Regions from separate parts of the Homo sapiens genome. Here region 2 is linked to region 1. Evidence: promoter capture Hi-C in 16 types of primary human blood cells and fetal thymus (Javierre and others, 2016). All regions are on one chromosome and are shown on one strand. Each heading gives the region's core, a stretch centred on a gene start or on the middle of the fragment in contact. The rest is flanking DNA. Distances are from core to core; before and after follow the strand shown.

What was found. Contacts are between HindIII fragments. The CHiCAGO score rates a contact against its expected background, and 5 or more counts as called.
Region 2: a contact is called between a fragment that was not itself captured here and the fragment with the promoter of MIR155HG in region 1, in 5 of 17 cell types (activated CD4 T cells, M0 macrophages, M1 macrophages and 2 more). The highest score is 24.5, in activated CD4 T cells.

The regions. Positions count from the first base shown.
Region 1 is chr21:25,560,843-25,564,355 of GRCh38, forward strand. It overlaps MIR155HG (MIR155 host gene), which reads left to right and starts at 1,303. Exons shown (of 3, transcript NR_001458.3): 1 at 1,303-1,415. RefSeq lists an enhancer at 838-887 and silencers at 1,268-1,357, 1,368-1,647. The HindIII fragment of the contact is 13,141 bases long and covers 1-3,513 here.
Region 2 is chr21:25,462,332-25,465,593 of GRCh38, forward strand. The region is part of intron 8 of LOC105372753 (a long non-coding RNA gene); the gene reads right to left. Among named protein-coding and RNA genes, the nearest start is that of LINC00158, 32 kb to the left of the region's middle. The HindIII fragment of the contact is 3,160 bases long and covers 115-3,262 here.

The DNA.
Region 1 (3,513 bases), core at 53-2,552:
GTTAGTTGTTATCATCATGATTATTCTTGTTTGAATTATAAGAGAAAAAGCATGTATCTTAAGAATAGAGGGTTTTAAAATGCTCCCAAGTTCCTTAACCAACCTGAGCCATCTGTAAATTAAGTACTATGGGATTTCCAGCTCTGACATGTATTCTGACATGTAACTGGCATCAGTTTAATACAAACTATTCTAAAATGTCTTGTGCCCTTGACAGGGAGGTCCAAGTACTGGATACTTGCAATGCAATCCAGCAGTGGCCCCGTCTTTCTTACAAAAAGGCCCCAGTCACATGTTGATGAGGCTAGATCTATTCCTGTCCTCCTTCTCTTCCCCATATTTCCTTATTCTTCTTCAAGTCTAAACGTTTATTGAACTGAGACCCATGAATGAGTTACTCGACTAGGCTTGTAGGATAAACTTGCCAGGCTTTAGATCTATTTGTTCCTTTCCATCCCCCAAAATCAAATGGCTGCTCCAGGAAAATGTTCCCCTTGTGGCAGGGTCCGGGAGAAAAGAGAGAAGCGACAAAACCAAAAATTAAAACGACCGAAGTCCCATATGCTCCAGGAATATGTCCTGGAGATGGGAGTGGAGGGCAGGGGGAGAATGTTGTTGAGGTCAAAATTTTTGAAGTTTTAAGTCCTATATCTTGACATCCCGAGTATAAATGCGGGTACCAGACACAGTACAAACGTTCTCAAAGCCCAGTTACGTATTCCAAACCAAACGCGGGCTCTTGAAGGGTGATGAGGTAGGGATGAAATCCAGGATCGCCTGAAGACCATTTCTTCCTCTCTTAGGGACCTGCTGGTCTCCAGCTGATTCGGTCCAGGAGGAAAAACCTCCCACTTGCTCCTCTCGGGCTCCCTGCAAGGAGAGAGTAGAGACACTCCTGCCACCCAGTTGCAAGAAGTCGCCACTTCCCCCTCCAGCCGACTGAAAGTTCGGGCGACGTCTGGGCCGTCATTTGAAGGCGTTTCCTTTTCTTTAAGAACAAAGGTTGGAGCCCAAGCCTTGCGGCGCGGTGCAGGAAAGTACACGGCGTGTGTTGAGAGAAAAAAAATACACACACGCAATGACCCACGAGAAAGGGAAAGGGGAAAACACCAACTACCCGGGCGCTGGGCTTTTTCGACTTTTCCTTTAAAAAGAAAAAAGTTTTTCAAGCTGTAGGTTCCAAGAACAGGCAGGAGGGGGGAGAAGGGGGGGGGGGTTGCAGAAAAGGCGCCTGGTCGGTTATGAGTCACAAGTGAGTTATAAAAGGGTCGCACGTTCGCAGGCGCGGGCTTCCTGTGCGCGGCCGAGCCCGGGCCCAGCGCCGCCTGCAGCCTCGGGAAGGGAGCGGATAGCGGAGCCCCGAGCCGCCCGCAGAGCAAGCGCGGGGAACCAAGGAGACGCTCCTGGCACTGCAGGTACGCCGACTTCAGTCTCGCGCTCCCGCCCGCCTTTCCTCTCTTGAACGTGGCAGGGACGCCGGGGGACTTCGGTGCGAGGGTCACCGCCGGGTTAACTGGCGAGGCAAGGCGGGGGCAGCGCGCACGTGGCCGTGGAGCCCGGCCTGGTCCCGCGCGCGCCTGCGGGTGCCCCCTGGGGACTCAGTGGTGTCGCCTCGCCCGGGACCAGAGATTGCGCTGGATGGATTCCCGCGGGCAGAGGCAGGGGGAAGGAGGGGTGTTCGAAACCTAATACTTGAGCTTCTTTGCAAAGTTTCCTTGGATGGTTGGGGACGTACCTGTATAATGGCCCTGGACCAGCTTCCCTGTTGGAGTGGCCAGAGAAGTGTGTAAAACACACTAGAGGGGCAGGGTGGAAAAAGAGACTGCCTTCAAAACTTGTATCTTTTCGATTTCATTTTGAAAAATAACTACAAATCTATTTTAATTTTACAAAGTTAGACTCATAGCATTTTAGATATCAATGTCTTCATTTAACAGAAGTGAAGATGGAGCAAACGCTCAATCAGCGTCTGTATTTATTCGCTCCTGTTGTGCCAGGGTGCGTTTTTGCCGAGCGGTTGCCTTTCTTTACTCACAAAACCCCCTTGATGTCTGTCCTCCACGTTTTACGAGGGAGAGCCGGATCTTTTGAAGTTTGTATCATCTAAAGCAGGTATATTGGGATGACTATGGATAGAATTTAACCTGAAAACACTGAAGTTGACAGCTGACAAAGATATAAGAATCCAAAGTATGTTAAAAATTAAGGAGCTGAGGCCCACAGAAGTGAAGTTACTTTTCCAGCATCACACAGCAGATCTAGGACCCTGTGTGATTTGAAAAGGCCAAGGTATCTAATGATGCTCATAATTTAGTTTACATTTTGTGTCAAATAGATGAGGTCAAGTGGACATTATGTGTATATTCCAAAGCCAAAATTACTGCTTGTAATATCCATTCATCTCTCCGAAGACGTAGTGCCTCTTTTATATGGCTTTAACCTAATGTATAATCGAAGTGAATTAGGGCAGCCAGACTTTTAATCACAGGACTGATCTTTTAAAAACGGGTATATGTAAAGTTAATTGCTTATCTATGTGAACAGTAATATACACTATAAAAAGTTTTCAAGGCAACTTCCTGCCTGTGGTTTAATTTGATAGTCACAATGATAGGAAATTGGCAGGGTTAGGTGGTGGTATCTACATTTTGCCCATGAGGACTTGTGGCTCAGAGAATTTGAGTTTTTTCTAGTAAGGTCACTAGGTCCCTAGTGCACAGCCTGCTTTTAGGTACGGATGTGGGATGGGGGTGTCGGCAGACCACAGGGTTTTGACTCTCAGTTTGGGCTCATTTCCATGACTCCTTGCTGCCTCCCTGATTTCTGTCAAATGACCAAAGCACATTTAGTAATTACTTCTGCTGCAAGGACTACTCCTTATTAGGCTGTGATAAGTAAGTTTCCTCACATAGTGGGTCAGCTCACTCTGGCCACAGGACCCAGCTTCCTAACCACACACATTAAGAAAGAGAAAAATTAGCACTGTCTGAGACCTACAACCACTTCAAGGGAGAACAGTGGTGTTTGCACAAATGTCTACTTTTGTTTTAACCTAGTCATGTGTAAAAAGTGTAATTCACTGGTCTTTACCAAAAAAAAAAAAAAAAAAACAACAACAAAAAAAAAACAGGCATCATAGTCTGCCTGTGCTGGACGCTATGCTAGACACTGGAGAGACAAAGGTGAGCAGGATAGGCACAACCCTACCCTTACAAACCCAGAAAGTTAGAGGAAAGGCCATCAGGACATTGCTGTGCAATTTGATATCATTTCAATTTTGGTAACATAGATATTTGAACTAATTAGAATGTGCTACAAATTTTGCCATTCTTTACTTTCCATATGCCAACATGGAAAATTTGTAACCCTCATCTTTAAATACCTCATCTTACCAGTCCTCTATAAATCAAAAAATCTACCCCAAAAAGCCCTAGGTTTTAACTTTTGAAAAGTTTTTTTTTATCAGCTTTTCAGGTCATGACTAAGATCTGCCATTCAATTTAAAGGAATTCT
Region 2 (3,262 bases), core at 445-2,944, 98 kb before region 1:
AATCTTACTTTTAGCCTATTTGATTCTACTTATTTCAGAACTATTAATGACGTTTGTGGAGATATATATATATATATATATACATATATATACAATCTGGACTATCGGACTATAAGCTTAAAATCAGAAGACTCTTTTATATATTTTTATAATGCCTCAAATCTAGCATAGTATCAGGTACAGAGTATATGCCCCGAGTCTAGCAAAGTGTCAGTACAGTTCTGTAAATGTTGATTGCAGAAACTGAAAGACCATCAGCATGATAAACCACTGGAAATACTGACACAGATCTGTTGACAGATCAGTGCAATGGACTGTATTGTGTTCCAATTCATACGTTGAATTCATATGTTGAAGCCCAAAGTTCATATGTTGAAGCCCTAACGCCTTATGTGACTATCTGGAGATAGGGTCTTTAGGAGGTAATTAAGGTTAAATAAGGTCATAAGGGTGGGGCCCTAATCTGATAGTACAGTGGCTTATATGAAGAGGAAGAGAGAGAGAGACCTCTCTCCTTCTCTCCAGGCACGTGCACCTGAAGAGAGGCGATGTGAGCACACAAAGAGAAGGCAGCCATCTGCAAGTGAGGAAGCAGGCTTTCACCAGGAACCCAACTGGCTGGCATCTTGATCTTGGACTTCTCAGCCTCCAAACTGTGAGAAAGTAAATTTCTCTTGTTCAAGTCAACCAGTCTATGGTACTTTGTTATGAATGCCCAATCAGACTAAAACAATCAGAAACCCCATGACAAGTCTAATGCTTTTGATTGGTTTAATGACAATGAATGAAAAAAAGAATAATTACTTTTTTCAAATCATTCTGTAATATAGTCATCATCCAAGAATGAATTATAGCACAATACATGGCATGTATGAATTTAAGAATAAGGACTAACCCAAAGGCTTGAGAATAGAATGTAACAAAGTAGGGAAGTGAGAAAAAAATATTAAAATGTGCCATAAGTCACATTCAACAACAAAAAAAAATATTTTGTTCTATGTGGAAACTTTTACTCAGCCTACATATTATTTGACTCTAAGTTTGATTAGCTGTGATAAAGTTCGAGAAACATTTTAGCCCCATTTTCCTAGAGTTCATCAAAGATTGCTAAAAAATCACATAAGTGTTGCTTTTAAGCTGTAGCCCCAATATGTTTTTCTAAACTGGAATACGGAAACTCATCTAGTGTTTCTTATGAAGCACAGGATCCCACCAAGAAAAAGAAATGTCATTTATTTCTCATATTTGTCTCATATTACATTTTTTATAGAAAGTTGGTTAGAAATTTGCAACCCAAAATTAGCAAGAAAAGTCTATGACAACCTCACCCTCACTATATATTCCTTGAATAAAGGTTGCCTTTATAGAGGAATTAACTGAAAAATTTGAAACATGCTTTACATATTTACCATTATGATGCCTAAAATAAACATACCAGTGTAGATTCAGAAATCTAGATCAAAGACACCTTTTCACATTTTACTCATTTTTTAAGTAGTAAATAGAAGGATGTTCTAAGCAATTAGCCCAGAGATGCTTGACATTTTCACAGCAATCCAATCAACTTAACAGGGACATATTTGCAATGGCTTGGTTCTTCTGAAGGTAACAACTTTTTCTCTTCTTTTCTCTTTTTCTTTTTTTTTTCTGTTCAAAATTCAGAATTACTTCTCTCACTTGCTAAAGTGATACCCTTAATTTCTAGGGCATTCTGACATATTTGTCAGCACCATCTCTCCAACAACCTTAAAAATTGTCACAGGGATAAATGAATTTTTGAAAGCTAAAACTCAAAACTTTATTCTGTCATCCTTTATATACTTTTTTATTGATGATCATGAGCCTTATTAATTGGATTCGTCACCTTTCCCTGTGGCCAAAACTTTGAAAGTAGAATTTTGAGTTTTATTCTTTACTATATCATTTTACTCTAAAATATGTTCAAATAGATTTTTCCACACTGTGTAGTACTGTACTGTGTAAAGAACGTTTGTAACTAGGTCAACATACACTGTTTCTAGGCACCACTAAGGAAATAACTGTGTTATACCCATAATAGAAAATTACCAGAGTAACAGGATTAAAATGACTCATTAGGCCTTTGATTGGGGTGCTCTGTGCTACAGGTAGTGCCAAATCGAGGGCTCTGAAGACTCATGTTGTGAAAGTTTCCTTGAGAGGTCAGAAGTCACTCTTTCAAAATACAAAGACTCTTTCAAAAAACAGATGAGTGAGTGCATTGGATCTTGAGAAAATGGAATATGGCCCTTCTTTCTCTCTGAGAATGAACATGCAGTTTGAGTAGTCTGAATCTTGGAGGAAACAGAAGAAGCTGGTCTACACAACACCTTTCTCTGCATTATCTAGAAAGGTAAAGAATAACCAACCACAGCCCTGCAGGGTGACAGCCACCAGAGTGAGACTGACAGGAGGATATTTGGAAGAAGCACCTGAATCCGAAAAGGAAGAATCCATACATCTTCCATCCCTGTGCCTGAAAAAAGCGACTTTCAGAAAGATCAAGAATTTGGTAGCCTAGAAAAGAGGGATCTCTGCTTTATATACAAATTCTGATACAGTGTCCTACATGAATGTTTTATTCATTCATTCAGTACTTCTTATTGCTGTCTGTGAACTAGATACTAGAAAAGGATAAAATACTAAACAATCATTTATGACTCCTGTCCTCATACAGCTCATATCTAACTAGGACATGTAAATTTGGGCACCATTCTGTATGTCTTTCCTTATCTACACAAAATTTGTCAATGCGCCCTACTTTCTCTATCTTCAAAATAGATCCAGAATTTGGCTGTTTATCACAAAACATCAACTTGGTACACAACACAATAATTTTTGCCTGTATTATTGCAACTACCTCCTACCTGACCTACTGTTTTATAATAAGTTTGTCCAGCTTCAGCATATTCTCCAAAGAACAGACATAGAGATTCCATGAAAACATAATCTCACTCCTCTATTCACAACCTTTCAATGGCTTTCCATCTCACTCAGAATAAAAACTAAGAGTCCTTACCATGGTATACCAGGACCTACATGAGCTGGCCCCATTACTTCTCTGACTACATCTCCTCCTCCCTCCTCCCTTATTCATTTCACCTTAACTAAACTGGGCTCATCACTTGTCACTGTTCTTTGAACAGAGCAGGCAAGCTCCTTGCTCAGAGTATTGCACTTCATACACCCTCTGCCTGTAATGTCCTTTCCTCTGCTATCCAAATGATCTCAGGGAGCAATGGAG